7 separate regions of the Homo sapiens genome follow, and regions 1, 3, 4, 5, 6 and 7 are each linked to region 2. Evidence: promoter capture Hi-C in 16 types of primary human blood cells and fetal thymus (Javierre and others, 2016). All regions are on one chromosome and are shown on one strand. Each heading gives the region's core, a stretch centred on a gene start or on the middle of the fragment in contact. The rest is flanking DNA. Distances are from core to core; before and after follow the strand shown.

Region 1 (4,108 bases), core at 571-3,070, 500 kb after region 2:
CAGTTATGTAAATCTTGAGGCAAAGGAGTTAAAAGGAGTTTCTAATTTTATACCTGAAAATAGCTTTCACTGGATGTTTTTTCTCAAGCTTTATAATTAAGATTGGAGATCTCGTGGGTATTTTAATACGTACTCAAATATGTCCAAACAGCCAGAGGGGAAGTGAATGACCAACTGGGTAGGCTGATGAATATTTTCCTGGTAAATGCATAACTTTCCCCACAACTGTGATGCTTTATCCTTTGACATTAAGAATGCTGTTTGCAGAAGTAACATTCCTTTGAACACTCAGCTTTCTGAAATGGTGTCCCACCGCAAGGACTGGAGAAGGGTGAGTTTGAGCTCAACGCTGGAGTAACAGCCAGGCAAATTAGGTTCTGTCCTAATGTCTAACATGGAAGTATGGTCAGTCAGGTCTTGAAATAAATCTTAAGGTAGACTTAAAAATAATAAATTCCACCTTTTCTACTACTTTTGAATTTTTTGGGTCTATTTCTAGTTGAATTTGGGCTTGTTGGAAAACTGTCTCGAGTATTTGGGCAGTGAGTTTTCACCACGCTTCCTAAGTGAAAGCAGTTTGCTGAATAATGTCAATATAGCAATGTTAGTGGTATTGCTGGCAGAGGAAAAATGCTTTTTACTCTCATTCTGGACTTGAGCAGGAGATAAAGATAAATTCAAAAGTTTTATTGGTACTTCGGAAGTGCTATACTTGTCCTGATTTGAGCATGGTGGTCAGGCATGGATGATTGATGGCAAAGAGGCTAGGTTCCAGTCCCAGCTGGTGGTGAAACCTTGGGCAAATGATTGATCTTCCCTAAGCCTCAGTTTTCTCATCTGTAAGATGGAGTAAGTCTTCTGCAAGATGGAGTAAGTACTTCATTTAGTTGTTGAGGGAATGTAAATATATTATTAACTGTTGGCACATAGTACAGATTCAATAATTATTAGCTATTATTGCTGTTTGTTATTGACCTCATCAGCAGCATGTTTCCTGGCTATCTGTTCTGGTAAATTTAGATTCATATTCTCTGTGGAGGTGAAATATGAAATCAGCTTTCTCTTTCTACTCTCACTGAGTTAATGACAGTAAATCAACGACAGCTTTCTTATTCAACCCTACCTTTGCAAAGCTATTGAAAAATTTGAATTAAAAGCCAATTAATCCTGTATTAATGAGGTCTCTTTCAATTGACGGAGATAAAAAGTCAACTCAATCTCTCTTTTATATTTTCTTATGTTTCCAGGAATTCTGTCCTGTGGACTCTTTTCTTCCCTTGCCACATCTCTCCTCCCCTTGCTCGTTTTCCTCTCTCTCTCTCTCTCACACAGACACACACACACACACACACACACACACACACACACACACACACATATTTTTAATCTCTCTCCCTCCCTTTTCCAGGACTTACTTTCCTGTATGATGGATTCATTTTAAACAAGCTGTCTCCACATGATGGCAAATATCATGATGGCAAATATGATGCTGAATATCTGTAATGGATATACATTAACAGGTTACTACTGTGCCCTATTTTTTTCTACATGTACTATTCTTTATATGGGAATAATTTTTTTTTCCCAGTGAATATCTTTATTACTATTTTTCTTTATTTCTTGTAAAAAATGGGATACATGTGCAGAACATGCAGGTTTGTTACGTAGGTATACGTGTGCCATGGTGGTTTGCTGCACCTATTGACCCGTCCTCTAAGTTCCCTCCCCTCATCCCCCATCCCCCTGGTGTGTGATGTTCCCTTCCCTGTGTCCATGTGTTCTCAATGTTCAACTCCCACTTATGAGTGAGAATATGCAGTTTTTGATTTTCTATTTCTGTGTTAGATTACTGAGGATAATGGCTTCCAGCTTCATCCATGTCCCTGCAAAGGACATGATCTCATTCATTTTTATCGCTGCATGGTATTCCATGGAGTATATGTACCACATTTTCTTCATTCAATCTATCATTGATGGGCATTTGGGTTGGTTCCACGTCTTTGCGATTGTAAATAGTGCTGCAATAAATATATCTGTGCATGTGTCTTTATAGTAGAATGATTTATAATCCTTTGGGTATATACCCAGTAATGGGATTGCTGGGTCAAATGGTATTTCACATTCTAGATCCTTGAGGAATCACCATACTGTCTTCCACAGTGGTTGAAGTAATTTACATTTTATATGGGAATAATTTTGTAATGCACTTGCCTAAAATAATGTGACACTCCTGTCTCCTATAAACATATTTACCCCTTCCAAAGGAGAAATAAAGCTAAATCTTGCCCTGTTACTGCTTCTCAGGTGTATCTTCAGGATCTTTGAGGGGTATATATTTGCCTTGAGTTTGATTCTGATGTGGAAATTCCATGGTTCACTCACTGAGTGCTTAATGGTATTTTCTAGTATCCCCTCCATAGATGATAGAGCAGGAAGGAGAGGATAAATTTATTAAAACTACCATTTAGAAAAAGAGAGAAAGGGAAACAACTTACAATGGTCTGGAGTTTTTGGCATATATCATATTCTTTTGGACTGGAGTAGCAGGACTGCTCTCTTCCGGTAGTAGAGAGCTTTCCATGGTCCCCCAGTCTGGCTGCCCTAAGATCTGCTTTCTGAAAGATGTCTCTTGTCCATTGTGTCATAGCCTTATCTGAGAGGGACAAAGGTCCTTGTGCCATGACAAAGTGGCTTTAGCAGCTCATGTCATCCTCATAGGAGCCAGTAACTAGGGGACTGACTCAGGGGTTGGCAATTCCTAGCTCTTTGCCAGTTTTGAGTTTCTTTGATAAATACCTTTAAAAACCTAAGGAGTCTTCCTGCCTATTTTTTTTAACTTTAAGGGCTTCTACATATTATTGATTCTAAGACGCACATTTTCTTTTTTAAAAATTTATTTTTTATTCCAATAGGATTTTAGGGAGAAGGTGGTGTTTGGTTATATGCGTAAGTTCTCTAGTGGTGATTTCTGAGATTTTGGTGCACCCATCACCCAAGCAGTGTACACTGTACCCAAGTAGTGTTTTATTTCTCACCCACCTCCCACCCTTTGTCACGAGTCCCCAAAGTCCGTTGTATAAGATGTACATTTTCTTTTCACCTTTTAACATTTCTGAACTTGGGAAGTGTGTTACAATCAGTAGTGGCTTAGATAAGAAAAAGTAAATTAGTTCCTAAATCTAGTGAATGCTGGTGTCAAGGGCTAGATTCTAGACCCTGGTCTAGGTGTACCTTCTTTCAGTAAGAGCCTTGACATTTTGCTCACACCTTCCCTACCACCCGTGCTGGCAATGAATGCACTAAAAAGGGCAAAAGCCACTTGTATAAAATTCATTGGTTAGAGTGGCTAAGAAGTGGGTGGGACATGATAGGCAAAGTGAAACACATTAACGTACCTATGAATTACCTTCATGATATTTCATATTTAACTATTTACTGTTGTAAGTATTTCTGATATTCATCAATATCATTTACATTAGTATTGACATCATGTAGCATATTGGCTACATTCTCTTTCAAAACATCTCTTGATACCGCTCACATAAATACAATGAAGCTTGTATTCGATTCACGTGGTTATGATGGAACCTGACATTTGAAAAATTTCCACGTGCTAGTAAATTCACCAGTGTGGTCTCTCTTTATTTATAATCTCTATGGAAGTATTGTCATTTCTGTGTTTTTTTATTGTGTGTGCATTTGTTTTTGTTTTCTTTTAGTTAACATCAGCAAAATCCATGTAGTCTTTTGCAGATTCAGTCTATTCTCAGATGACTGTTGGATTTAGTATATCTCCAAAGCGCAGAGTTTAGACACGTTGCTGACAAAGGCAGCATCACATCAGTCTTCTTTTCATCCAGCCCTCTCAGTTCTGTATCTATTTACTGTGCCCACTTCCTTTCCAGTCTGCACTTCAGTAACTCAGTACCTTTCCATTCCTTAAAGGACACCGCTATCAAAACCCTCATCAAGAAGTAGGCCTGGCACTCATTACTGTCACTTTGAAATGAATTAATGTCAAGTCTAGTTGTGCTTTCATTTTACACTAAGACATTTAGGAAAACTATTTCTCAGTGAACAGATTGAAGGAGTAGACTTCACCCTTTTC
Region 2 (4,199 bases), core at 1,258-3,757:
AATGAAACTCGCTAAGCAGACAAAAACAGACAACTTTCTGCTTAGAAAACAGCCTTCTCGGTGGGAGAGGATGAACTGCCATGTCTAAGAGAAAGACTTGCCCCCGAATTTGTAGGTCTGTAACTGACCAAGTTTTGTAATTATTAACAGGTATTTGCCAAGTCCTAATTGCTGAATATAATGAATTGGAACTAGATGCGAAAATAGAGCAGGACCTCTCCCCTTGATGAGTTTTTATTCCAGCCATATAATTCTCAATAAAACTTTTCCTGGGCTGGATAGCAAAGGACACCTTTGGTTACCTGAATGAACAGGTACAGGGGAAATTATTTGGGGGAGGGAAAAAGGAGAGAAAAGCAAGGAGAGAGAGTGTGAGTGTAAGAGAAAGCGAAGAAGCCACTCTTGAGAAAAGCTTGCCATAAAGGAGCTAAACCCACCTGAAATTCCTACCCACGGACACCCCTTCTCACTTCAGACTCACATCCCCACTCAAAATGAGAAAATTAGAAAAGGAGGATGGAGGACGAGCACACCAAAAAGGGATAAAAAGAGAGAAAAGGGGAGGAAAAAAAACCTACCTGCGAAGTCTTGTTTGTAGTTTTGGCCAGAAATGGTGAGAAGAAAAAGCATGAAGAAGCCGCGAAGTGTGGGGGAGAAAAAGGTGGAAGCGAAGAAACAGCTCCCGGAGCAAACTGTACAAAAACCTCGCCAAGAGTGTCGGGAGGCAGGACCGTTATTCCTGCAGAGCAGGTTAGAACTGATCTCTTTCGGCCACTCCAGGAAACACAAACCTGGGGACGGACTGACGTGTTACGCCTCTTCTAATGACATTTTTTTCTTTTTCTTTTCTGTAGGAGAGAGACGAGAGACCCTGAAACACGCGCCACCTATCTTTGTGGGGAGGGATAATTGAAGCGCCCTGAGCGTGAGCATCATGTGAAAACGTGATCGCCAAGTTTCTCTCTGGGAAAGGATCTGGGATAGATTATACCTTGAAGTCTCCGCAAACGCTTTAGTGGAAGAAATGAAATTCCACCTCCCTCCCTTCCTCCTCTCCCTCCCTTTCGCCTTCGCCTCCCTCCCCCCTCCCTCCCTTCTCCCCCCCTCCACCCCCCCCTCCCCGCCCGTCAAGCCTTTGGCATCATTATCCTCATCACTAAATCCTACAGAGTACAGGGCGGAAAACGGTGCACACCATTCACAGAACTGGAGAACTCCAAGGGGCGAAAGTTAAAGGGAAAGATCCCGGGTCCTCAATCCAGATAGTCTCTTCTTATACAGATATCTCTAATGACCAGATTTGAGATGCACATCAAATTGTGTAGGTATCTCAGTACAGCTTCTGGAACAAAGTTCTCTGCCCTTTCTCTTATTGTTATTTTTTTCTTTTTAGGTACCAGAGCCAGAAAAAAAAATGCTGCATGGGAGCTGCATCTTAGGGCATGTGTATTAGGGTGTGTGCATGATGAATTTCTGGACTGGATCCCAATATTAAAAAGTAGTTTGGCATTTTAATAAAGGGTCTCTAAGTAAATTAAAATAGAACACTCGGTTGGCCGATCTCTGAATCTCTCTACACCTCGGGGAGACCTCACTACAAAGTAAGGGAGAGTGTGTAGGGAGGCAGGAGGAGAAACGAGAAAGGCCATAGAGAAACTTAGCAGGGAAGGGAGAGCATGATATTAAACGGCATGGGGTCTAAGTTTTGGAGTATATATTTTTTGATATTACAATTAAAGTAAGATTAAAAAGAAAAGACTCCACCTTTGCTCTGAAGGGATTGGTTATGCAAATATGGAAGGGATTTCCTGGAGAATACAGCTTTCTACTGTATGGTTAATTAAATAATCACTCAAAAGCTTCCAACGTGACGCTTCTGTCGTAATCCAATCAGGTTACATAGGTCCTAAACAAGAAAGATATTTTCCACATCTGGAAGTCAGCAATTTAGCAAGTACTGCACATTATTAACCAATTCAGAGCCCACTTCCCAGGGGAATTTTTTTGAAGTTTAAGTGTTCTTAACCAATGCTCTGCTGTTTTGTTAATCAAAAAGCTGGTTTACACTGCACATAATTGGAACTAATATAGAAGTAAATAAAGACAGCCAAATTTGAGGATGCTGAGCACAGGCATTTATCGGAAAAGGAAGAAATCTCCTATCCTCGGATGGTTCAGGCTCAATTTCTTAAATAACTGTGAGACTTTTTTTTTTTTCCTAAAGAGTGAAAGTGCTTGAGAACCTCAGAGCACAAATAAACTTCTAGCCTCACAGCATTTAGGATTCTTCGGAAAGGTAAAGGTGGAGGTGTTAAGAGGACCAGAGAGCTGCCTCACACCAATTTTTAAGCTTTAATATTGTTAAATATGTTACACCCTCCTGTTTCCAGTCTGATGAAATCTGAAACAAATAATACCCTGATCCAACACTATATTAAGATAAACTGCTTTGAACTGTGCTTTGAATGTGTGCCTAAAGCAAGACTTTGAATGCAAGAGTCACTGGCAATTGCACTCAAAGGAGGGACAAGCCACCACATGGGTTGCCACATCCACACTCCCAGAGGTATACGTCTTTGTATTTTGTATTTTTTTTTGCGGGGCGGGGGAGTGGGGTGGGGGTGGTTAATAGCTACCTAGCACGACCACAGCTAGATCTTGTTCTAGGATGCAAGAAAGTAGATTTTCACAGTTGGTTACTCACCTCTTTCCTAATTTAAGTATTTATTATAATGAAAATAGCTGCTGGATAAATTAACTCTCTCCCCCCACCCCATCACAGATAAAGTGTCTATAGAAGAAAGGCATTCAGGATCTTCAGCTTAAAAATTATTAATAAATAAAATCAAAGATTTTCAACATGGGTCAGGCACATTCTTAATTTTATATTTTACATTTCTTTCATTATTATATATCTATACTAAATATATGTGTGACTTATCAAGTTCCTCTTCTGAGATTTAGCACCACTGTTCATGTCCATTTTTCTTCCTCTTCCTTTTTTTCCTCTTTTTTAATTTAAAAGATTGGAATCCAGCTTTCTCTAGACGTTTGCTTTACAGCCACCCTTCCACCACTCCTAAGGAAGAAGGAGCCCTTTGCATAGAGTTATTACAGGCAAGACTCCTCTTCAGGCACCCAGGTAGCCATTGGAGGCTTACAGACCAGACACACACACAAGCATAACCTCAGGTCAAAGGATCCAATCGAATAGCTAACAAAACACTTGTCTTTATTATGTATATTAAATGTCAGGTTACTTAGGATCTGACTTAAAAAAAAAAAAAAAAACCCTAAGTATTTCCATTAAAAACACCTAATCATCTGATTACCCTGGACTCAGGAATTGCTCAAGTGGCAGGAGGCAGTCCCCAACATTTATCACTGGGAGTTCCGACTAGCCAGTATTTGATTTGGGGTGAAAAAGCAGTCTTCCAGGTTCCCATGAAGGTAGATATTTGGATGGTGGCACGGGAAGGGTCTCCGCGAGGGGTGAGCGCTGCGGCTAGGTTGCCTTGCCCCTGGTTCCTGACTGGCACGCCCCTCCCCAGGCATTTGGCCGAGAGAGTTCCCAACGTGGCAGAGGTGATGGGGTCGGGAGGAAGCCGGAATATAAATTTGTTCCGAACACTCCCTCAGTCCGAGGGCCAGTTCGGGGACAATGGGGATCGTGGGATCAGGAGGATGCAGGAGCACAGGACGCAGAGAAAAGTCGAGAGAGGACTGGGGGCTGCTGGCTTTCGGCTCCTCACACAGCAAAATAAGTCCTGCAAATGAATCTCTCCTTCTCTGTCTTCCCCATTAATAATCCACTTCGAGATTAGCGCAGACGAAAGAGATTAAAACAACAGATACACGGAAATGTGAAATAATATTGCAATCAACATTGAAGGGGGAAAAATAATTCTTTGGGGTTTCCATGGGCAAAACAAACTACCTCCCTCAGGATTCCCTCCACCCAGGCAGGGTGAGAAGGATGCACTTTTGTTTTCCAATTCCCTCCAGCCAGGACCTGGTGCCTGTCCCCCCATTCACCTCTCAGTCTGTCAATTTCCTCAACTTTCACAGCCGCTCCCCCCTCCCCCCGCTCAGCTTGGCGGCCCAGATGCCCGAAGAGATACAATGTTTCTGCCCTTGAACACACAGGCTGTAGAAGGAATTCGAATTTGGCCACAGCTAATGATTTTTTTTAAAGCAAA
Region 3 (3,960 bases), core at 430-2,929, 360 kb before region 2:
AAAATAATCCCTTTGAAGATTAATCAAGACAAGAACAGGTGAGACATCTTTCTAGGAGTAAGTAAATTTACTTGTTCTATAAAATTTTAGTTTCTGATTGGAAGATACTTTCATTTAACTATATTTTAACATGGATATAAATAAAAATGCCTGAAATAATTCTTTCAACACATATTCCTGCATGTTATCAAGAAAAAAAATAGTGTTAAAACGGTCCCCCATATTTTCAATAGTGTAAAGCTGGTTGGGAGCCACTTTTCCTTCTTGTACTTGCAACATGGTAGGACATAAACTGTAAGATGAAACTGCATTACCGTCACCAACCACTTTCTCATCATGGGGCCGAGGCTGATTCAAATATGGTTCACAAATGGAAAGAAACAGATACACAGTGATCAAGTTCAACTAAAGAAATAGTTAAGTGTATTTTATGCCGTTACTTAGGTATTATACAAGCATGGAATAGCTGAGATGAAGTAAAGAACAGTGAGATAGTGAGTTCAGAAGAGAAGAGCCATAATCACATGTGTTTGAGGAATATTACAAATACTTTCATGGAGGTGGCATTTTCAATAGGCCAGACTGGATCTGTAGTTTTTCAACAAAGAGAAGACATTCCAGACAGAGAGCTTACAGAAATAAAAGTGGTCAATACTCAATTTGAAAACAAAAAGGTTGGCTGAAGGGGTTGGCTCATGAAAAAGTTGTAATAAGAAAAGCTGCAAATGCAGATTAAGTATATATTGTAGAGGACCTTGAATGCAAGGCTTACAAGTGAGCCAATGTGTACACAGTGCGGGGATGCTGAAGTTTCAGGCTATATTTTTTTAGGAGTAGAGAAACAAAAGGCAAAAATAACAAAACAAAAACAAAAAAATAAAAATTCCATAACAGTACACGTAAAGACTAAAGAAAAAGGGACCAGTTATGAGATGATTAGAGCAATACAGACAAGTTGCAAAGAAAGTCTGAAGAAATGTAGTAACATTTCTCCTCTAAAGGAGGAGAAGGCACTAAAAATGTACCTTCAAGATTTTGAAATGTAATGACTATCGGAAAGATCATGCCATCATAAAAATATAAAATCAAGGACAGTGTCTCATGCAAGAAAAAAGAGTGACTGAACACTATTTAGTAAATCTTAAGTTTAAGGTGTCAGGGTCTGTACAAACAAGCATTTCCTACAAAAATGTTGAGATATGGTCCTAAAGTTACTGATTACAGCAATAAAAATAATATTATCCTTTATACTTATATAAGCTTGTACCTTTCACTGTCTTTTTATCCTTCTAGTGTTGGTAATTACATCAGTTGTACAAATAAGAAAACTGAGGCTCAGAAAGGATGACTTATCAAATCTCACATGAGTATTACATGGCAAAGTGAGACTGGAGACAGATTTTGGAACTTTTGGTATAGAAGTCACTTTGAAGTTGTAAGATTATCAAGAAAATGTGGAAAGAAAACATGGTAACTTATGCGCAGAACCAGAGGGAAAACTTAAGACTGTAACGCAGTGATCATTCAATACCTCAGTAGATGATCAAGATGCCTAACAAAGCATTACAGGGCCTGGCAGTCAACAGGTATTCAATGAATAGCTGTCACATCAACGGTTAGAGGGGAGACAGCACCAAATCGTGTCTTTCTATCTGTGATGGACAGAGGAAATAGCTCTCAGACTAATTTAAGGCAGCCACTTTCTCAAATGAATTCTTACACACAACTGGTACGTAAAATACACAAAAACACCTTTGAGTAAAGCAGGAATAGATGGTCTGGAAATTCACCTAACTCAACCTTTTTTCACTTCCTTTGACAACATGTCCTTTGTATATATTAATATATAGAAATCTCTGAGACAACTCCACGCAACCCAAGAAAATGCTGGAAATCCTCTATGTTAGTCAGTCATAAGAGTGATAATAATTTGGGACATCTGAGTATGGCACGAAAGAAAAGGTAACATGTGGTCTGAAGAGATCATACTGAAATCGAGTACCAGCCTGTCTACACTTGATGGTTAAACAGACACTCCATTGTCATGTTCTACTAGCTGGGATCCTTCATTACTTCTTTCTTGTATTTATTTATGACCAAAAGCTTCCTATGATTATGACTCATATCATCAGATCACTTGGACATCACAACTGTATACAATGGAAATGATATATTTAATCGAGTCAATTCCCTGTGGCTGTCTTGTTCCAGTACCCTGTTGCAGAACCTCCCCACCCACTTACATCTTGTAAGAAACTGGCCATGCCACATTATTCCACATAGAAGCCAGAGAGGAAAAGAACAGCATAATGTCAGAAGGTTAAAATTAAATGTGAATGCCCAAATTTCATATCTTACCAGAAAGAAGTTTTGTGATCTAATCATGTTACTGATAGGACCAGTTACATGTATGACTAGGGAGGAAAGGATATGAATGTCCCTACAGTTGAAAAAAACGAAAGAATGATTGAGTCCTTTCTAACAGTAGACTTGACAATGTTGTTCCATTTTAATATAAATTGTAAATGAAAAATCCAGTCCAAATGGAGAGTAAAAACAGTAATCATTATTTTAAAATCCAGCCCAAGTAAGTAGTAAAAAACAGTAATCACTATAAGATTTTATTATGGCAATACCTGTGTACAAATATGAAGAAATATGTAAAGAAAATCACAGGCTAATTCTTGGATAATTTATTCAAGGAGTAAGTTATGAAAATTCATCAATAAGTAGAATAAATGGGGTAAGGCAAAGAGAGCTTACCATAGATTCTATTTATGCAACTACAGTTTTAATTTAGTTTGCATTGATGGACTCTTATTTCATGTGTTACAGTGATGTTAAACCTAGACACAACATGCCTTGCATCTCAAGTTTTCATAGTACAAAGACATTTGGACGTGGCATAGACAGTTGCTCCTTTTGCTTCAAGTGATAAATGGTTCAGCTGTAAAAAGGATCTGAATAGACCTAACAAAAATCAGTGAGTGAATTTAGAAGAGTAACTACATGCATTAAAATTTTTATTTTGCTCTCCTGATTTTTACACGGTAATTTGCCTTCAGGAGAAACCATGCTGACACTGTCCTGGGTGTTTTCAGGCCTTTGCAAATGAGGCTGAGACCTGGTTCCAGGAACGAATATACTTCAAAGGAAACAGTACCACCTACAACACCTGTCATCAAAAAAGACAGTGGGCCAATCAAAAAACCTAGGTCAAAAGAGCATAACTTGGGCAAGATGCTGGTTAAATTCAATGAATAAAGCAGAAGAGTAAAGATTTCAAGGAGAAGTCTTGCTCAGAATTTAGGAAGTGACTCTGGAAAATCTTGTACAGATGTCAAGCTTGACTGGGATTATGCAGCGGACAGAACTGGCAGGAACTAAGGAAGAAGTATCAAAGCCCCAGAAGGTGCCTATAGAATAAAGCAGAATATATCAGGGGAAAAAAACAAAGAGAGAAAAATCTGGCCAAGTTAGCTAAAGGTGGCAGTTGAAAGGTGAGGAGAGATAAGGGAAAGAGCAGCAAAGTAAAGGCCTAGGGCTGATCTCATGGCAACTGGCAACAAGAGAGACCTAGGGGTGAATGTCAGCTGGAAGAACGTAGGAGCCCAAACAGCTGTGCGGACGAATTCCAGGTCTTGGATGGATAAAACTATAAGTCACATCAACGAGCAGGTGTGCATCTGAAGCTAAGGATGTGTCTATCAGCTGACTCAGGTAAGAATGGCTCAGGTACTGTGCAAGACTGAGTTTGCAGATAGGGGGCATCAGTGGACCTGACTGTGCCCAGCTAGGGAAAGCCAAAGGCACAGAAACAAAAAGAGGGTGAAGAGACAGCAGTAAATAGAATAACACAAAACTGTTTCTGAATTATAATATGTGTACTTGGTAGAGACTACAAAACAAACCCGGAATATGAAAATGTGGATTTATCCAAAAGACAAAATTTTATTGTAT
Region 4 (3,967 bases), core at 841-3,340, 390 kb after region 2:
CACTAAGATTGGGCTCTTCTTGTAAGGAGATTCTGATATTAAGAAAATTGAAATTTCCTCCACGTCATTACCTATTCAGGATATTAAGTCTGAAAATATTTAATTCATTTCAATTTATCTAATATTTATTGAGCACTTACTCTGTAACAAGCACTGGGTAGGTGAAGTGGGAGGACAGGAAGAGGACCAACGTCTGTGTCCTTCTGTCTGAGGAGAGACAGACACATGACTAAGTAGTAACACCGACAAAGGGTAGATTTCACTAACTACATTAACAGAACTTTGGGCTGATATGTGGATGCAGAAGACAGAGAAATGAATTTTAACTGGGTGGTACCACAGTAATTCTGATGGAAATTTTATCTCCATCTTTACAAGATGGATCAAATTTTGATTGGTGAATATTAGAATAAAAGTTTATTAAAATAACTAATAACGAGAGTGCTATTTAAGAAAAGGCAAGGTGTGGGTAAGGAGTTGTGTCAGAGGAACTGCAGGGGTATTGGCTTGTGGCTGGTAGACTGGAGAAATGAGAGAGGGTAAAATGGGAAAGTAGATCTGGAAAAAACTTGAGATGAACTCATGGAAGCTTGAGGAAACTGAGTCCTTAAGAGAAGTCATGAAAAGTTTTTGAACAGGGACTGCTTTATAGCAAATGGTTGGGGAAGAATCTAGGGTCAAAAATTCAGCTTAATAATATAATAATCACTTTTTGGCTGAATAATTACTGTGTTATTTAAACTTTTTTTGTAGATTTTGGGGGTACAAGTACCATTTTATTGCTTGGATATATCACGTAGTGGTGAAGTCTGGACTTTTCATGTACCCATTGCCCAAACAGTCAATGTCTTACCTAATGGATACTTTTTCAACCCTCACTCCCCTTCTACCCTCCCACCTTTTGGAGTCTCCAGTGTCTATTCATCCACTCTGTATGCCCATGTGTTCCCATTGTTTCTAAGTGAGAATATGCAGTACTTGACTTTCTGTTTTTGAGTTATTTCACTTAGGATAATGGCCTTTAGTTCCATCCACTGCTGCAAAAAACATGATTTCATTTTTTTAAATGAGTAGTATTTATGTGTGTGTGTGTGTGTTATATGCATGTGATATATATGTATATATAACACATTTTTAATCCAATCATCTGTTTATGGACACTTAGGTTGATTCCATGACTTTGCTACTGTGAATAGTGCTGCAATAATCATACAGGTACAGATGTCTTTTTCATATAGTGATTTCTTTTCCTTTGGGTACATACCCAGTAGTTGGACTGCTGGGTCACATGGTAGCTCTACTTTTAGTTCTTTGAGAAACCTCCATACTGTTTTCCATAGAGGTTGTACAAATTACATTTCCATCAATGGTGTATACGTGTTTCCTTTTCTCCACATCCTCTCCAACATCTGTTGGTTTTGGACTTTTTTAGTAGTAGCCAATGAGATAGTATCTCATTGTGGTTTTATTTGCATTTCTCTAATGCTTGGTGATGTTAAGCATTTTTTTCATGTTTCTTGATCACTTGTGTGTGTTCTTTTGAAAAATGTCTGTTCATGTCCTTTGTCCACTTTTTAATAAGGTTATTTGTCTTTTTTTCTTGTTGAGTTTCTTGTAGATTCCAGATATTAGCCTTTTGTTCGATGCATAGTTGGCAAATATTTTCTCCCATTCTGTGGGTTGTCTGTTTACCCTGTTGATTATTTCTTTTGCTATGCAGAAGTATTTTAGTTCAAGTCCCATTTGTTAGTTTTAATTTTTGTTGCATTTGCTTTTGAGGACTTAGTTATAAACTATTTGCCTGGGCCAATGTCCAGAAGAAATTTTTCTAGGTTTTCTTCTAGGATTTTTATAGTTTCAGGTCTCAAGTTTAAATCTTTAATATACCTTGAGTTAATTTTTGTATATGGTGAGAGACATGGGTCTGGTTTTATTCTTTTGCATATGGCTGTTTAATTTTCCCAGCACCATTTATTGAATAGGTAATATTCCCCTATTTATAGGGGAATTCCCCTTTCTGCACTTTATGTTTTTGTTGACTTTGTCAAAGATCAGTGGCTTGTCAGTATGTGGCTTTATTTCTGGGTTCTCTATTCTGTTCCATTGATCTATGTATTTATTTATATACCAGTACCATGCTGTTTTGGTTACTGTAGCCTTGTAACATAATTTGAAGTCAGGAAATGTGATGCCGCCAGCTTTGTTCTTTTTGTTTAGGATTACTTTTGCTATCTGGGCTCTTTTTTGGTTCCATATAAATATAAGGACAGTTTTTTCTAATTCTGTGAAAAATGTTCTTGGTATTCTGATAGGAATTGCATCGAACCTGTAGATTGCTTTGGGCAGTATGGCCATTTAAACAATATTGATTCTTCCAATCCATGAGCATGAGATGTTTTTCCATTTGTTTGTGTCATCAGTGGTTTTTATTATCAGTGTTTTGTAGTTCTCGTTGTAGAGATCTTTCGCCTCCTTGGTTAAATATGTTTCAAGGTATTTTATTTGTAGTTTTTTTTTATGCTATTATAAATTGGATTGAGTTCCTGGTTTGGCATTATGGTGTTACTATACCATACCTATGATTTTATTTCATCTTCACAATAGCACTGTATTATTTTTTCACATTACTGAAAAGAAAAGTGAGGTGTAGGAAGATAAAGTAATTTGCTCCGGAGCACATGGTAAGTGCCTGAGCTATAGTTCAAATTTGGGGCCTTCTAACTCTAATTTCTGTGTTATTAATTTTTCCCTTATTGCAAAGGAATTGCAATTAATGAGGCAGAAGTAATGTGATTCTTCATTTGGACAACTGAAATCAGAAAGGACAGGGAGAACGATTTTTAAAATAGCGTAAAAGGAAATTCGATGTTTTCACAAGATTGGCTAGATGGAAAGGGCACGAGAAAGACAGAGGTCTATGGACAGAAGGGACAAGCGGTAGAGCTACATTTCCATGTGTGCCCCAAATCAGGAGGAACATCTTGGCTAGAAATATAAACCTGGAATTCATCCTTAGGAGGGGAAGATTTAAATGATTTGAGTGAATAATGTCATAGGATGAAACTACATGAGAAGAATGCATGGAGGAAGAGAATTAACAGAAGGAGAAGGAGACAGCACCTCTTAGAGCTAGAAACAAAACCAAGTAAGATAGGCAGAGGCAAGAACACATCTAGGAAGAAATGAAAATAGAAAATATACAAAATGCTGCAAGGTGGCCAGTTCTTACTAACTGGACAACCACAGGAAAATCATTTCTTGAACCTGCTATTTCTTTTAAGTTGCTGTTAAAAAATTGTTGTTAAAGGAAAATGTTGTGAGAATGAATGTGCTAACACATGCAAAATGCTTGGCCCAATGCCAGGCATATAGTTTGTGCTCAGTAAAGTCAGCTATCAGAATGATTGCTATTATTATCATCATCATCATTATCATTGGTAAGCGTTGAAAGAGGCCCTTGGATTTGATGACTCATAGGTTTTTATTGACATTTATGTAATTAGTTACAATACTTTTGTGGGGCAGGAACAGATAACAAGAGAGTGAGAGATGTCAAAGAAGTAGGGAAAGATAACCTAAAATATTTTTCAAAAAGCTTGGCAGTACTTGGAAGGGCAGAGGGCAGTAATTCAAGAAGGATTAGTCTGGGGTTGAGTATATTTTTACTCTGAGAGGACAGGACAGAGGTGGTAGAAAGGGAGAAGGTGGGAATGACTGGCAGAGGAATAGTTTTCAAATGGATGTGCAGGAAGTGGTCCAGGAATATGCTTTCAAATGAACATGCAGGAAGTGGTTCTTTTGAAGGCCTGTCAAATTTAGCAACCTCATAATAAAATTATCTGACAATATGTGTTTTTCATGCACAGGTGGAATGAGTTACAGAGAGGATTATGGTGGGGCGTAGCCTCATTCAGTGATTCATTTGTACAACTCAATTCCCATCGTGAAAATTATTTGAGAGTAAGTT
Region 5 (4,082 bases), core at 761-3,260, 350 kb after region 2:
CTTGACTTTACTTATGACATCACATTCTAATACGGGTTTCTTAAAATGGCCAGTCCTGACAGGCACAATACCCTCTCCTCTTTCTGACATTGCTGAGATGCCTGAACTTCTAGAAGGCAAGAGTCAAGTCCCTGATCCTCTTCATATTGGCCAGACCAGCTCACTCCTGCACCCAGAGGGTATCTCTTGTCCCCTTCAACCTGAATCACTCAGAAGCAAGTGAATATATGAAGTCTTATTGGGTTTACTTATTAGGAAAAGTGATGCACATTATTTTAGAAGTTATCTTTTGAACTTTGTGAACTGATACCGGGTGTTCTTTACAAAGTATTTAATCTCATCTCTGAACTGAAAATACGTGACTCCAAAAGGAAACAGTGGATGGCATTATGATGTGGGGGACTCAAGACACGTGCTCACAGCAGTCATCATAATGTGTGATCAAATATTTGTTTCCTCCAGTTCTTCTACTTGTTATTTATCACCTACTAGACTGAGCCTCACAGGAGTTAGGATTGTGTGTGTTTCTACAATAGTGTAAGACAGGGCCCAGTATACAGCAGGTACTCATAAAACACCCTGAACAAATAAATAGTCAAAATGACAAATGTTCATAGTTGTTTACTTATAACAGGAAATAAAAACACACTTCTTATCCTGTACATAGCACAGTGCTAGGAAAACACTCGATAAATGTCTCTGCCTTAGTCCACGGTCTTCTCCTCTCAAGCACACACTTATCAGCTTCTGCTCAACTACTCACTCCTGTGATTTTGACCTTTTGCTACACCTGTATCATATGTCACCTTCCTTAACCGGAGCCCATATTACTTCACTGGCTTTCTTTCCTCACTTCTGTCTTCAGGTACTTCCATAGCTCTTCTGGGCCTAAATAATGTCTCCAGTTCCCTAAGGTAATGCTCAGAACGATATGCTTATATCTGGGGATAGAGAGAAAAATGGCAGAAGCCTTGCCACTCAGCAACTCACAGATTAGTACTCTGAATGGCATGATCTCAAAGTGCTACGGGATCCAAAACCCAAATTGGAAGGATCATGGAAAACTCTCAGGATCAAAGGACATATCTGAAAGATGCACAATTCATTGATACCCATTTGGAAGTGCATTTGTTTGTTTCCCAGAAAAAAAAATCTTTTAAACTTCCCCAACTGTATCTTTGGTCATATCTTGGTAGAGTTTTAATATAGTCTTGGATTATTAGTTGAAAGATTGAACATAAAGATTTTTTTTGTTCTCACTGAGCTACTATTTAAACGTTTTATTATTGATGCTTGTGGAAAATGGCAGCAATGGAAAAGCTTGTTCTGATGCCATTCAATCAGTGTCGGGTGGTTCATTTTGAATCAAAATTGAATCAAACCAATAATGATACTAATGAGGGGGATATCAATAGTTCAGATCACATAATTCCTAGTGGTGTTAATACTTTATTTGGGTAGCCAACATGAAAAGGTTTTCAAAACATCTGCAGCTCCCTTTCTGTTTGAATCTTCTATATAGAGCAGTGGTTAGAAAAGTGACCTTTAGAGTCACACAGACCTAGATTCTAGTTCTTACTTGTTCATCACTTGCTGTCTGACCATTGTACATTACTCCCTAACAAAAAATGTCTTCATCTCTGAAGAGGAAAGAATACATTTTCTTCTGTTTTGTAGGATTGTTGGGATACAAGCGTACAAGGTGGTTAGCTTAGTGCCTGGCATACAGTAACATTGAGTATGTATTAGCCATAGTTATTAATAAAAATAGCCAACATTAAAAAAAGACAAAGATGTAAATGAAATATAAAGAATACTTATGTATCCTAATGTCCAGTCCCCCAACAGGAACTTTCTGCATAAAGTCCACTAATCTGCAGTTTCCCTCAAATCTGGCTGCTTATAGAAACCAACTAGACATTTAAAAAAAAACACAGATTCTCTACCTTTATTCTGATCTTTTGAATACGAAACCTTGGCAGTGGCTCTGGGAATTTTCATTAAAAAAAACCCACCAACAACAAAGAAATACCTCCCCAGGTGTGGAAATCACTAAAGTCCTTAGAAATGAGACGATGGTGAAATCTCTCAAAGCATATATAAAACATTTGTCCTTCAGAACATAACACTATTTTGGAAAATGTGGGAAATATATAATATGAACAGAATAAATAAAGGTATTCATGGTAAGGCAACACTTCAGAAAATAGTCTTGTGGTGCCTCTATGTAATTTATGTAAGGCAAGCCTCTCAGTACATAGTCTATATTATCTTTCTTCTGATTAAAACCAGAATTAACCTTTCAACATATTATAATAGGGTTTTGTTTTAGTCAAAATTGTAATTTCTTTTTATGCTTTTCTCAAGTGTTCTATTTTTCCCTCATCAAAGCATCCGCTTTTATTTTACTTTAGACATAAGTCCCAATGTTTCATAGACATGAGCTAAGAACAGTCTTATTGAGAAGAGAGAAACATTGAGAATAATAGGAGTTGTTACACACACAGTAACAAATGAAATACATCTTTTGTAAATAACTCCCACCAGAAATCTTATATTTCCAGGCATCTATGCATATACCTTCATATAACAACTTTTGCGTTCGTAAAACATTCATGGAAGGCAGCTCTGCAGTTTTATAGAAAAACAACGTGCCAGGGATGCAAGAATCTTGCCAGTTCTGTGAAAAATGACACCAATTAAAGCTTAAATTGCTTGTTTTCTCATAAGGTACATATTTTCATAACTTTGAAATCAAATAATTGCTGCTTTTATATTAAATACAATAAAACAAAAAGGATGCTAGTTTAGAGGAACTGCTACAAGCATTTTAATATAATTTTCCCACCATTTAAAGTCACAAAATATGGAAAACAAGTCAAGTATGCAAAGTTCCAAGGAGATAGAGAAACTCCTTCAGATTATTACATCATTTGTCTTTTGTGTCAGGAAATGTGTATATGATTTCATTGTTTGATTAAATGCCAAAAAAAGGCACATTGCTCTTATCTAACTGATTACAGATTTTATTCATATGAAAAAGTATTTGTTAATGCTTTACCATTAGAAGATGTTTTTATTTTTTTTTCTTTCTTAAGTTCTAAACATGCATTTCCAAAAAAAATAATCTTCTAACTTCCCAGGCTTTATTTCTTTATTTTGCGTTAACAGTACATGATACTCAAATTTCCCGTAGTGAAATCCAGTCCCTAATGATTTCATATCTGCAAACTGAACAAACAGTTCCTTTCTGACTGGGTAGAGTGAGTGTGTCTGCATGTATGTGTGTGTGTGTGTGTGTGTGTGTGTGTGTGTGTGCAAGCTCTGAAATATGTCAATTTTAAAAAACATTAGAGAAAATAGTTTTAACATATTGAGGTACCTAAAAATAAAAGGTTTTTGATATGTGTGTCTGGGGCATTACTCTGGGGCATAGTCAGAGAGACAAATACGATTTAAAATCTAAATCAAGTGTTGTAATATGTTTTAATACTTTTATATAGTAATTTTTAAATATACATATGTAAAGCTGCCATTGAGCAGATGAATTATAATTTTCTTAGGCAACATAAAATACTGATTACTAAACTTGTGATATTTAGTAAAAATATGTAAAAGTGTAAAACTGTTGTCACATTGATGGCTTTTATTTGAATCTGCGGGTGCCTGAGTGACAGCTATGGTTTTGGAGAGAGAGATACCATGTGCTTTTCATGGTATAAACTAGCTGTCTGCATTAATAATAAGCTTGTGCTGAAGCCAATTTGAGGCTACATCGAGGGATTTCAAGGTCATTTGCCAATGGCCTGGCCTCCATTAACTTCTTCAGTAAAAGTCCCAATGATCCTTATTTTGGCCTTGAGTGTGGGTTATCAAAATCATCCCTCTTAATATTTCCACATAAATAGCTTGTTTCCTTAAATAGTCATTATGTTCAGTGGGGACAGTTTCTGAAAGCTTCTCAGTTCAATAGAAAAATGCATTTGGAAAAATCTGTTATATTAAAGTATATCTGTATTTGGAGAAAGAAGACTTTAAGAATGCTTTGTGTATTTAATTAGAAGACATTAAGGACAGCTAAA
Region 6 (3,943 bases), core at 1,346-3,845, 370 kb after region 2:
CATGGGAGGTTTCCCAAACACTAGCCCTCTAATAAAGGAGATTTTACCATCAAACAAATGCTAGCTTGTATTAAACTACTGAGCACGGCATTTTCAAACTAGACCTTGGAATACTGGCAAGAAGGCTAGGATGCAAACTTTCAATAATTCTGCTTTATTATGATTCATCCTTATCTGGTTAAAAATTCTTATACATGAACTGGGTATTTTTTATTTATTTGAAATATATTATAAATTTACTATGTACAAAGTTATTGGATATTATTTTTCTACTCAAGACCCTTGAGCAAAGAGAATTTTGGTCTTAGCCGGTCTTAACTGATCTCAAGCTGTGAAGTAGCCATGGTAGTTATTGGGGTTTCAGAAATGCCATGGCGGTATAAATATAGCTTTTCTAAACTTAATCTCACCTACTATTATATTCTTTATTTCTTTTAATGAGGAAGTTGTTAATTCTACTCTAAGAAAATAATGGAAACAACTATTTATACCTTCATCCACAAAAGTATGCTCAACAACAAAAGTCTTCCAACAACCCCCTTATGTAGTTTTTGTCCTATGTCTACATCTAAAGTCATATTGTTTAGTTAGATACAAATAGTGAAACTGTTGCCTTTCAAAACAGTGGGAAAGAAAAACCACTATTAAGAAATTTGTATTAAAATTACTCTTCACTCTCTGACTCACGCACTACTGTGTAGGGCAGGGTCTCTCAGTCCAGGCATGATCGATGTTTGAGACTGGATAATTATTTGTGGTGGAGGCTGTCCTGTGCGTTATAAGATGTTTAGCATCATTCTTTGCCTCTACCCAGTAGATACCAGCAGCACCTTGCCCCCCGCCCGCCAACTATGACAAATAAAACTGTGTTTAGACTTTGCTAAATGTCCCCTGGGAGGTGAAATTGACCCTCATTGAGGACCACTGCCCTGGGTTTTGTAGTTTGTTTCTGTTTTATACATACAGTCCACGCTATATTGTGGCTACTCAAAACTGTCTTTTTAAATGAATAAATAAAAGCCGTCTATCCTCCTTCTGTTCTAAATAGGTGTCGACCACAACAACAAAAGTTTCAGGAGACTTACTATGTGCTCAACATTGTATTAGGTATTATGGTTGACCCTAAAGAAGCATCAGCTTGGCTTTGCACCAAAGAAGTTTTTAGTCAAGTTGGAGAGAGATCACTACTCAAAGAACGCAAGAGACTAATGGAAGACAGAATATATTGGCAGCAGACTAAAAGGCAGAATGGTCACACTTCAAAATGTTTGGTACAAGCTATGGTGATGTTATTGATCTTCTGATTTGATGTTCCTGTGAAGGTTCTATGACCTATTTTGATATGTAGACAGTGGTAAAATGCTCAAAGCTCTTTGCTACGATATGTAATAACAAAGGGAACAGTAAAAAATATTCTGTTTAAATAAGCCAGATCACTTTTACATGTGATGGCCAAGCCATGCAGGGGAGGAGGTGCTGAGCCTGGTTCTGTTAGTAACTGAGTGGTAGCTGAAGAAGACAAATCTAACCAGGCATGGCAAGTCCGTGGATGCCATGAGAGCCTGTGCATTTAGAACTAGGGCACACTAACAGAGATCAAACTAAGTTTTTCCACTAACATCAGACCTTTGCAATTTAATGATTATAAAACTTTCCTAACATTTGCAAGTTTCTAAACATTTATTTTCTTTTATTCTGTGCAATTCCTATTACCATTGAAATTATTTAGGTCACATATTTTTGTGTTATTTAAGTAACACTCAAAGACAAAACCAAGAAATTCTTTTTCTACTTTTAACCATCCTGATTGGATAGTTTATATTTATATCAAGTTCTAATCTCCTAAAATTTTTAGTGTGTTTAATAATGAATCTTTGAAGAATATGATACACTTGTGTAATAGCTTTTTCATATAATAAAATTTTCCAAAGTAAATAACCTGACAAATTAAAAAAAACTCATACATTAAATGTAAAGTACTATTTTGTTATAATCATAGAATTTAATAAATTAAAAGGATTTTAGAGAATATTAAGTTGATGGAAGTTACTATAACTCACAAATATTTTGGTACTCCCACCTTCTGGGCTTATAGCAGAATTGCACTTCTATACTGACTTGAAGCCAGGTGTGGACATATGACATGCTTTAGCCAATTAAACATGATCGTGTGTTATTACCAGGCAAAAGCTTTAAGAAGCAGTGGGTGGTTTTCCTGTGTCATTGTGACCAGTGATATTCCAGGCAGTGGTAGCTCTGTTATCTTGAATCTTGGAGTGAGGATGATGACAAAGCAGGAACATGATCCCAGCTGACCTGCATAGAACATCTAGAGGGAAGGAGAAATAAAATTTTTGGTTTAAACTACAAATACAGTCAGCAAACACAAATACAGTCAGTAAGATTTGGTGATTGTAACCACAGCCTAACTTAGATCACCCTGTTTGATACAAAATCCACATTCCCCATTGTCAAATAGTTATTTAAGGCACAGAGAAATTGCAGCACTTGACTGTGGTTGCAAATGAGGTTGACAAAATCTTTTCCAGAATCAATATCTGCTGCCTAGAGTAGTATATTTTTCCACTTTACCAATGTTCTCCCAAATTTTGCATGTGTACCAACATTGAATATGAGGTGATTTTGTGATATAAATATTACTTTAAATGATAATGTATCACTTGGGCAGAAAGTTAATGTCTCTTCAGTTGTCTTTCACTCTTTCCGATTAATGAAAGGAAGAATTCTCTATTTGGTGTTAGCATGTCTATAACTGTGGATATTTAGCTGCCTTCTAACCATTCCTTTAAAAAAAAAAAAAAAAAGAATGAGAGAACAGGACTCAGGCTCTGAGCCTTCCTTAGGCACCAGACAGAATTCAATAAGTGTTTGATTTTCACTGAGATAAATTTTACAGTTACTTTTTGTTGTTGTTGTTGTGGAGACAGAATCTCTCTCTGTCGCCCAGGCTGGAGTGCAGTGGCGTGATCTCGGCTCACTGCAAGCTTCACCTCCCAGGATCAAGTGATTCTCCTGTCTCAGCCTCCTGAGTAGCTGGGACTACAGGCACATGCCACCACACCCAGCTAATTTTTGTATTTTTAGTAAAGACAGGTTTTCTCCATGCTGGCCCGACTGGTCTCAAACTCCTGACCTCAGGTGATCCGCCCACCTTGGCCTCCCAAAGTTCTGGGATTATAGGCATGAGCCCCTGTTCCTGGCCACAGTCACTTCTTTTATAAGGTTTTCCATTTTCGTAGTGACATAACATTTACCTTAAAGATATATTTGTTCAAGAACCAAAAGTTAAAGAAAAATATTAGCTAAATTACAAGGCAGATGCTATGCAGATATGGCAGAAATTGCAAGAGTAATTAATACACAGTGGTGAGTGGTGAGGTGAAAATAACTGGTGCTGGGTAAAGAAATTCTACCATGTCGAAGTACTGACATCAGATCCTCTCTTTTCATAAAAAACAGAAAAATAGGGAAATATATATTCATTTATTCTATGAGTTTCTATTCAATTCTGTTAGCAAAACCCATTCCTTTGACATCTACCAAAGAGAATTTGCTAGGTCCTTGGTGGCACAAAGATGTGTACAGTCTTTTCTCTAATCCTCAAAGACTGAATGTCACATATAACTGGAAAAAAACTCTTTTAATATAAGAAAACAAAAAAATCAGCAATTTTACTCACCTTCTGTGATCACATTTGAATCTTGTCTACACTTGTAGGCTTAATAATCTATTTAAATAATGCTTATATAAATTGATTTCAAAAGTACTTTCTATTGTTATTGTTTTTTAATTTCAGATCTCTAAATAGTGTCCCTAACTGACATTTCTTTTGTATGTGGGTAGGTAAAATTGATTTTGTCTCAATTAGATAGCACCTATCTCTTTGTTGGCCTGGTCAGGGTGAGGAGCAAGTGAATGCTTT
Region 7 (4,137 bases), core at 1,486-3,985, 380 kb before region 2:
AACCATACTTATGCTAAAAAGTTAAAACTGGCATGAAGAACATCAATTTTTATACATTTGAGGAATAATTTATGACACAATATTGAGAACAGAGTCAAACATACTGACCTGCTCACATCAGGAAACCTGATGGGAAAGTAAATAACTTGGCACTTGGGTCTGATGATGCTTTCCAGATCCTTGGGTCTGTGATCAGGAATCAGCTTCATAAATTTTCCCATGGAAGTGAGAAATGATTCCATATTAAAAACTGAGTTGAATACAACCACATCAGCCACCAGGCTGTAAAGGTAAAAGACAAATGCAAATGATGAGCCCAGACTCATTCAGAGTAATTTTTATCAACCTAAGACCTCTATGGATTAATCAGAGTTTATACTACACCTTAGGTTTGCAAAGAACTCTTCACTTCATATCAGTATCTACCAAAATGTCTCTAAGAGCTAAGTTGGTTTCATTAGTGTTATATCACAGGGAGTTGATTGGTGGCATCAGATTTGAAAGGCAACAGGGAAATAGAATGATTTAATGGGATCGCATGAGACTCCAAACCAAAGCATATTTTTCCACAATGCCAGGAACTTTCTATATTATCAACAACACTACGTACAGCAATTCCTTTTTCTTCGTGGCCCAGCTACCCATGTTGAATTTCTGTCAGTGATGTGCATCATTTTACACCATACTACCGAGAACAGAGCATCTGTCACACTTCTCACTAACTTCAAGAAGACTAATTCAGATAAAACTACTTTCATACTAAGGCACGATACCTTCGGCACTATTTGGTTAAAGTCTACTTCTTGCTGTAGCTTTTACTTCAAGAAACTGTGTTAAGTTTTTAAAAGTTCTGGGACTACACAGAAAGGATTATGGTATCCCAAAATAACTTGTTTCACTATCATATTATATTATATTGGGCTAGCCAGAGAAATAGAAGAAACTGGTAGAAATGCATCCGGAAATCCAGATCACTAGGTCCTAACTGATTACATAAAGGTACATATAAATTATAAAGCGCCGCAACACCATGATCTTCGAATTCAATGAAATAAATGTGGTAATACCAGTCCGCAACAACAATGGTTCAAACTTAAGATTTTTTAAATTTCACAATGGTGAAAATGTAATATATATTCAATTGAAACCATACTTCGAATACTGAATTTTGATCTTTTCCTGGGCTAATGGTATGTGCACAATATTCTCTCACGATGCTAGGCAGCAGCAGTGAGGCACAAATCTCAGTCAGCCACATGATCACAAGGGTAAACAACCAATACTCTACAGTGGCCTGTGCTGCCAGATGATTTTGCCCAACTGTAGGCTAATGTAAGTATTCTGAATATGTTGAAGGTAGGTTAGGCTAAGCTATGATGTCTGATAGGTTAGTTGTATTAAATGCATTTCAACTTATCATATTCTCAACTCACAATAATGGGTTTACCAGGCTGTAATCCTATCGTAAGTTGAGGAACATCTGTATACAAGATTAAAGGGATAAAGCAATTGGTTTTATTCCACCCTAAAAATGATAGATCAATACTACTGGAAAGAAGACATGTTATGTCCACAGGACTGCAGAACACCACAGAATAAGTAGAGCTTATAGAATAGGAATGCCGTAGCCAAACGTCAGTTTAGTTTAAGTCATATTTGCTGAGACAGCCAAATTTACTATTACAATGTTAATATCTAGCAGAATAAAAAATGAACAAAAAGAGTGTTGGCCTGCTACTTCCGTGCATCCCTTGAAAAAAACTGATTTTCTATACAAGTATTGTTTATTAGTTGCTACCTAGTGCAAATTTGGGGGGTGTGGGTGATTACAACACGAACAATACAAAGGAATGTCACAGAAGTGCTGACACAACACTAAGCAATAAGGAAGCTAATATAATAATATACCAAAAGTTGAAGGATGTTTTACAGCTAGTCTTGTTTTCACCATATGTCACATATTGTAATAGTGACCTACAGGTCATAATATATAGTTGTGACATGTGTTCATAAGTCAGAGGGTTAGTGAAATCACTGTTTAAGGTGAGTGCTTATGTCAGTCATCTTTAAAGTCCTTAACTGCCACACAGTCCAGAAAGAAATCTGACAGTGCCAAAAAAAGCAGAAGTCAGCAAGAAAACTAAAGAAACATTTGAGGAAGCAGGAGTCATACTTTTCAAAGAGAATCTGAACAGGACTGCCTTTTGACACTCTTATTTTTCCTCTGGACAACTGTGAACCATTTTTTCCCCATTAAGAAGCCAACTGATGATGAAGTACACTTCTCTCTCTCCAAGCTTGTCTATAAGTTTACCCTCTTGAGAAAAGCAATGCTGAAAAATCATGTACAAAACTTTTATAGTCTCATTCCCTATCAGCAAAAACAATGTTTTATGAAAGTGAGGAGGAATCGAGAGCTGAATTGTTTTTAGATAGCTTCCCTCAAACGGCATGTGACCCAATGACTTACATTCTTAAAAATCCAGTCTATGCTAAATTAAAGATCCAAGATAGTTTACAGAAATATCCTTTTTGGTACATTTCCTCCCTGATATGAGTGGATGTAACTTCCATTAACTTTAAAGCCACCCATAAAGGAAAAAATAGACTTAGTTTTTTTCCCAATGATTTCTCAGGGGTAATAAACACACTATCTGAGGAAAAGAATGATGCTAATTCAAGAAATCAAAAGAATATTACAAATGTTTTCCATATTGATAAAGCACAAAATGATTTTATTTTCATTTTTAAAACATATTTTCCTTCTCTGTTTCAATATAAAGTATTTTAATTTTATTATGAAATTTTAAAACGGCTGCTTTTTTTATGAGACATTTGACGTGAAGCAGTTGCACTCTATTTTGATAGCACTGCTACTTCACAATTGAAGCAGCTTGTAAAAATGATTGTAGGAAAACATTCACAAAATGCACACAACACAGAATTATTACTATATAGCCATTTTTCTATGTCAACTAAACTATGAAACATTCTTGCAAGAATTGCGGGTCTGTTCAAATACATCATCAAACCCAGTTGCTAATAGCTGTTAATAAAGATAAATAAAATGTACAAAATCACTGACAAACAGATTCCGTTTGACTGTTGCAGTTATGTGAATAGGATCCAATAGCAAAGCCATTTCAGAATTGTTATTAACTTCTTTCATTAACTAAGCTTCAGGAGATACACTTTGTCGAAGTAACAATAGAGGACCATCACCTTTAAAATGTCATGGTATTTTAAGGCTGTGCCATTTCAGAAGACTCAACGAAGGAAAAAAGAAAACACTACCTAAGGATTCATTGTCCATAGTCTTCTCTGTCTTACAATTTAAAAAAAAAAAAAAAAAAAAGGCGGGGGAGACAAAACCCCAAGTTGCTCCATTATGCTTTAATTTTTACTTCTCTGTAAAACTCTATTTTGATTTTAGCTGAATACAGTGATCGTGATTAATAAGTAAGAGTTGACTAACTGCACTTTCTAAATGCCTTAAGCAATAGATCATGAAATCAAGGGGTGAAGGTCCCTGCCAACCTTTTAATTCTATTTTGAATGTTGTGAAAAATAGATAATTAGCTCAACATATAATTAGATTGTTACATATATGTATTTTTATAAAATGATTAGTTGTGATCTTACATATACTGCAGAAGGAAGAATTGTTTAAATATTTGCACCTACCTTATGGTGTTTTAAAAAAAGGTGTACAATAGTAGGTCTCCAGATTTAAAACGTAACCACCTACAAAGAAAAAGGTAGCAAAGGGCCAAATATAATGATACAATCCATACCTACCATGAAAGAATTTGGTTGTATCCATATTGGAAATCCCTCTCCTGACATTTCTTGACAGGATATATCAACTGGTTCTCGTGAAAATACAGAATCTTTTTCAGTTTCCCAAGGTCAGGCCGAAGGGCAGCCAGTTCGGTCAGGTTAAGCACTGAACTTGCAAAGAGGGTCCTAGGAAACAAGAAAATTGGGGTTTACTGTCCCAAGTATGTTTGAAGGGATCATGCTTTGCTCTTCTCTCCTCTTTCCTCTTCCCACCCCAAGAAAAACACATCCCCTATAGGGACACATCAATAGTTGAGGCTTAATACCATGTAGCAGCATTCTAAGTTTTGATCTCTT

What was found. The method cuts DNA at HindIII sites, captures the fragments that hold promoters and counts their contacts. A CHiCAGO score of 5 or more calls a contact.
Region 1: a fragment that was not itself captured here is called in contact with the fragment with the promoter of LINC01412 in region 2 in 1 of 17 cell types (neutrophils); the score reaches 6.6 in neutrophils.
Region 3: a fragment that was not itself captured here is called in contact with the fragment with the promoter of LINC01412 in region 2 in 4 of 17 cell types (total CD8 T cells, activated CD4 T cells, non-activated CD4 T cells and 1 more); the score reaches 8.6 in total CD8 T cells.
Region 4: a contact is called between a fragment that was not itself captured here and the fragment with the promoter of LINC01412 in region 2, in 1 of 17 cell types (neutrophils). The highest score is 5.4, in neutrophils.
Region 5: a fragment that was not itself captured here is called in contact with the fragment with the promoter of LINC01412 in region 2 in 1 of 17 cell types (neutrophils); the score reaches 7.8 in neutrophils.
Region 6: a contact is called between a fragment that was not itself captured here and the fragment with the promoter of LINC01412 in region 2, in 1 of 17 cell types (monocytes). The highest score is 5.4, in monocytes.
Region 7: a fragment that was not itself captured here is called in contact with the fragment with the promoter of LINC01412 in region 2 in 2 of 17 cell types (total CD8 T cells and activated CD4 T cells); the score reaches 5.6 in total CD8 T cells.

What each region holds. Positions count from the first base shown.
Region 1 is chr2:145,022,943-145,027,050 of GRCh38, forward strand. The region is part of intron 3 of TEX41 (testis expressed 41); the gene reads left to right. It overlaps LOC100505498 (a long non-coding RNA gene), which reads left to right. Exons shown (of 8, transcript XR_923410.3): 3 at 1-331. Among named protein-coding and RNA genes, the nearest start is that of LINC01966, 140 kb to the left of the region's middle. The HindIII fragment of the contact is 3,468 bases long and covers 87-3,554 here.
Region 2 is chr2:144,519,361-144,523,559 of GRCh38, forward strand. It overlaps LINC01412 (long intergenic non-protein coding RNA 1412), which reads left to right and starts at 2,508. Exons shown (of 3, transcript NR_110570.1): 1 at 2,508-2,566. ZEB2-AS1 (ZEB2 antisense RNA 1) reads left to right here and starts at 254. Exons shown (of 4, transcript NR_040248.2): 1 at 254-314; 2 at 599-750; 3 at 855-925; 4 at 1,394-1,539. ZEB2 (zinc finger E-box binding homeobox 2) reads right to left here and starts at 759. Exons shown (of 10, transcript NM_014795.4): 1 at 579-759. It overlaps LINC02993 (long intergenic non-protein coding RNA 2993), which reads right to left. Exons shown (of 2, transcript NR_136320.1): 2 at 4,184-4,199. The HindIII fragment of the contact is 4,746 bases long and covers 2,349-4,199 here.
Region 3 is chr2:144,159,116-144,163,075 of GRCh38, forward strand. The region is part of intron 4 of QTMAN (queuosine-tRNA mannosyltransferase); the gene reads right to left. Among named protein-coding and RNA genes, the nearest start is that of QTMAN, 170 kb to the right of the region's middle. The HindIII fragment of the contact is 843 bases long and covers 1,259-2,101 here.
Region 4 is chr2:144,910,903-144,914,869 of GRCh38, forward strand. All of the region lies in intron 3 of TEX41 (testis expressed 41), which reads left to right. Among named protein-coding and RNA genes, the nearest start is that of LINC01966, 31 kb to the left of the region's middle. The HindIII fragment of the contact is 3,006 bases long and covers 588-3,593 here.
Region 5 is chr2:144,871,643-144,875,724 of GRCh38, forward strand. The region is part of intron 2 of TEX41 (testis expressed 41); the gene reads left to right. Among named protein-coding and RNA genes, the nearest start is that of LINC01966, 8.2 kb to the right of the region's middle. The HindIII fragment of the contact is 1,385 bases long and covers 1,319-2,703 here.
Region 6 is chr2:144,888,840-144,892,782 of GRCh38, forward strand. All of the region lies in intron 2 of TEX41 (testis expressed 41), which reads left to right. Among named protein-coding and RNA genes, the nearest start is that of LINC01966, 8.9 kb to the left of the region's middle. The HindIII fragment of the contact is 815 bases long and covers 2,189-3,003 here.
Region 7 is chr2:144,141,774-144,145,910 of GRCh38, forward strand. QTMAN (queuosine-tRNA mannosyltransferase) reads right to left here. Exons shown (of 12, transcript NM_001376312.2): 5 at 3,799-3,966; 6 at 109-282. Among named protein-coding and RNA genes, the nearest start is that of QTMAN, 190 kb to the right of the region's middle. The HindIII fragment of the contact is 880 bases long and covers 2,296-3,175 here.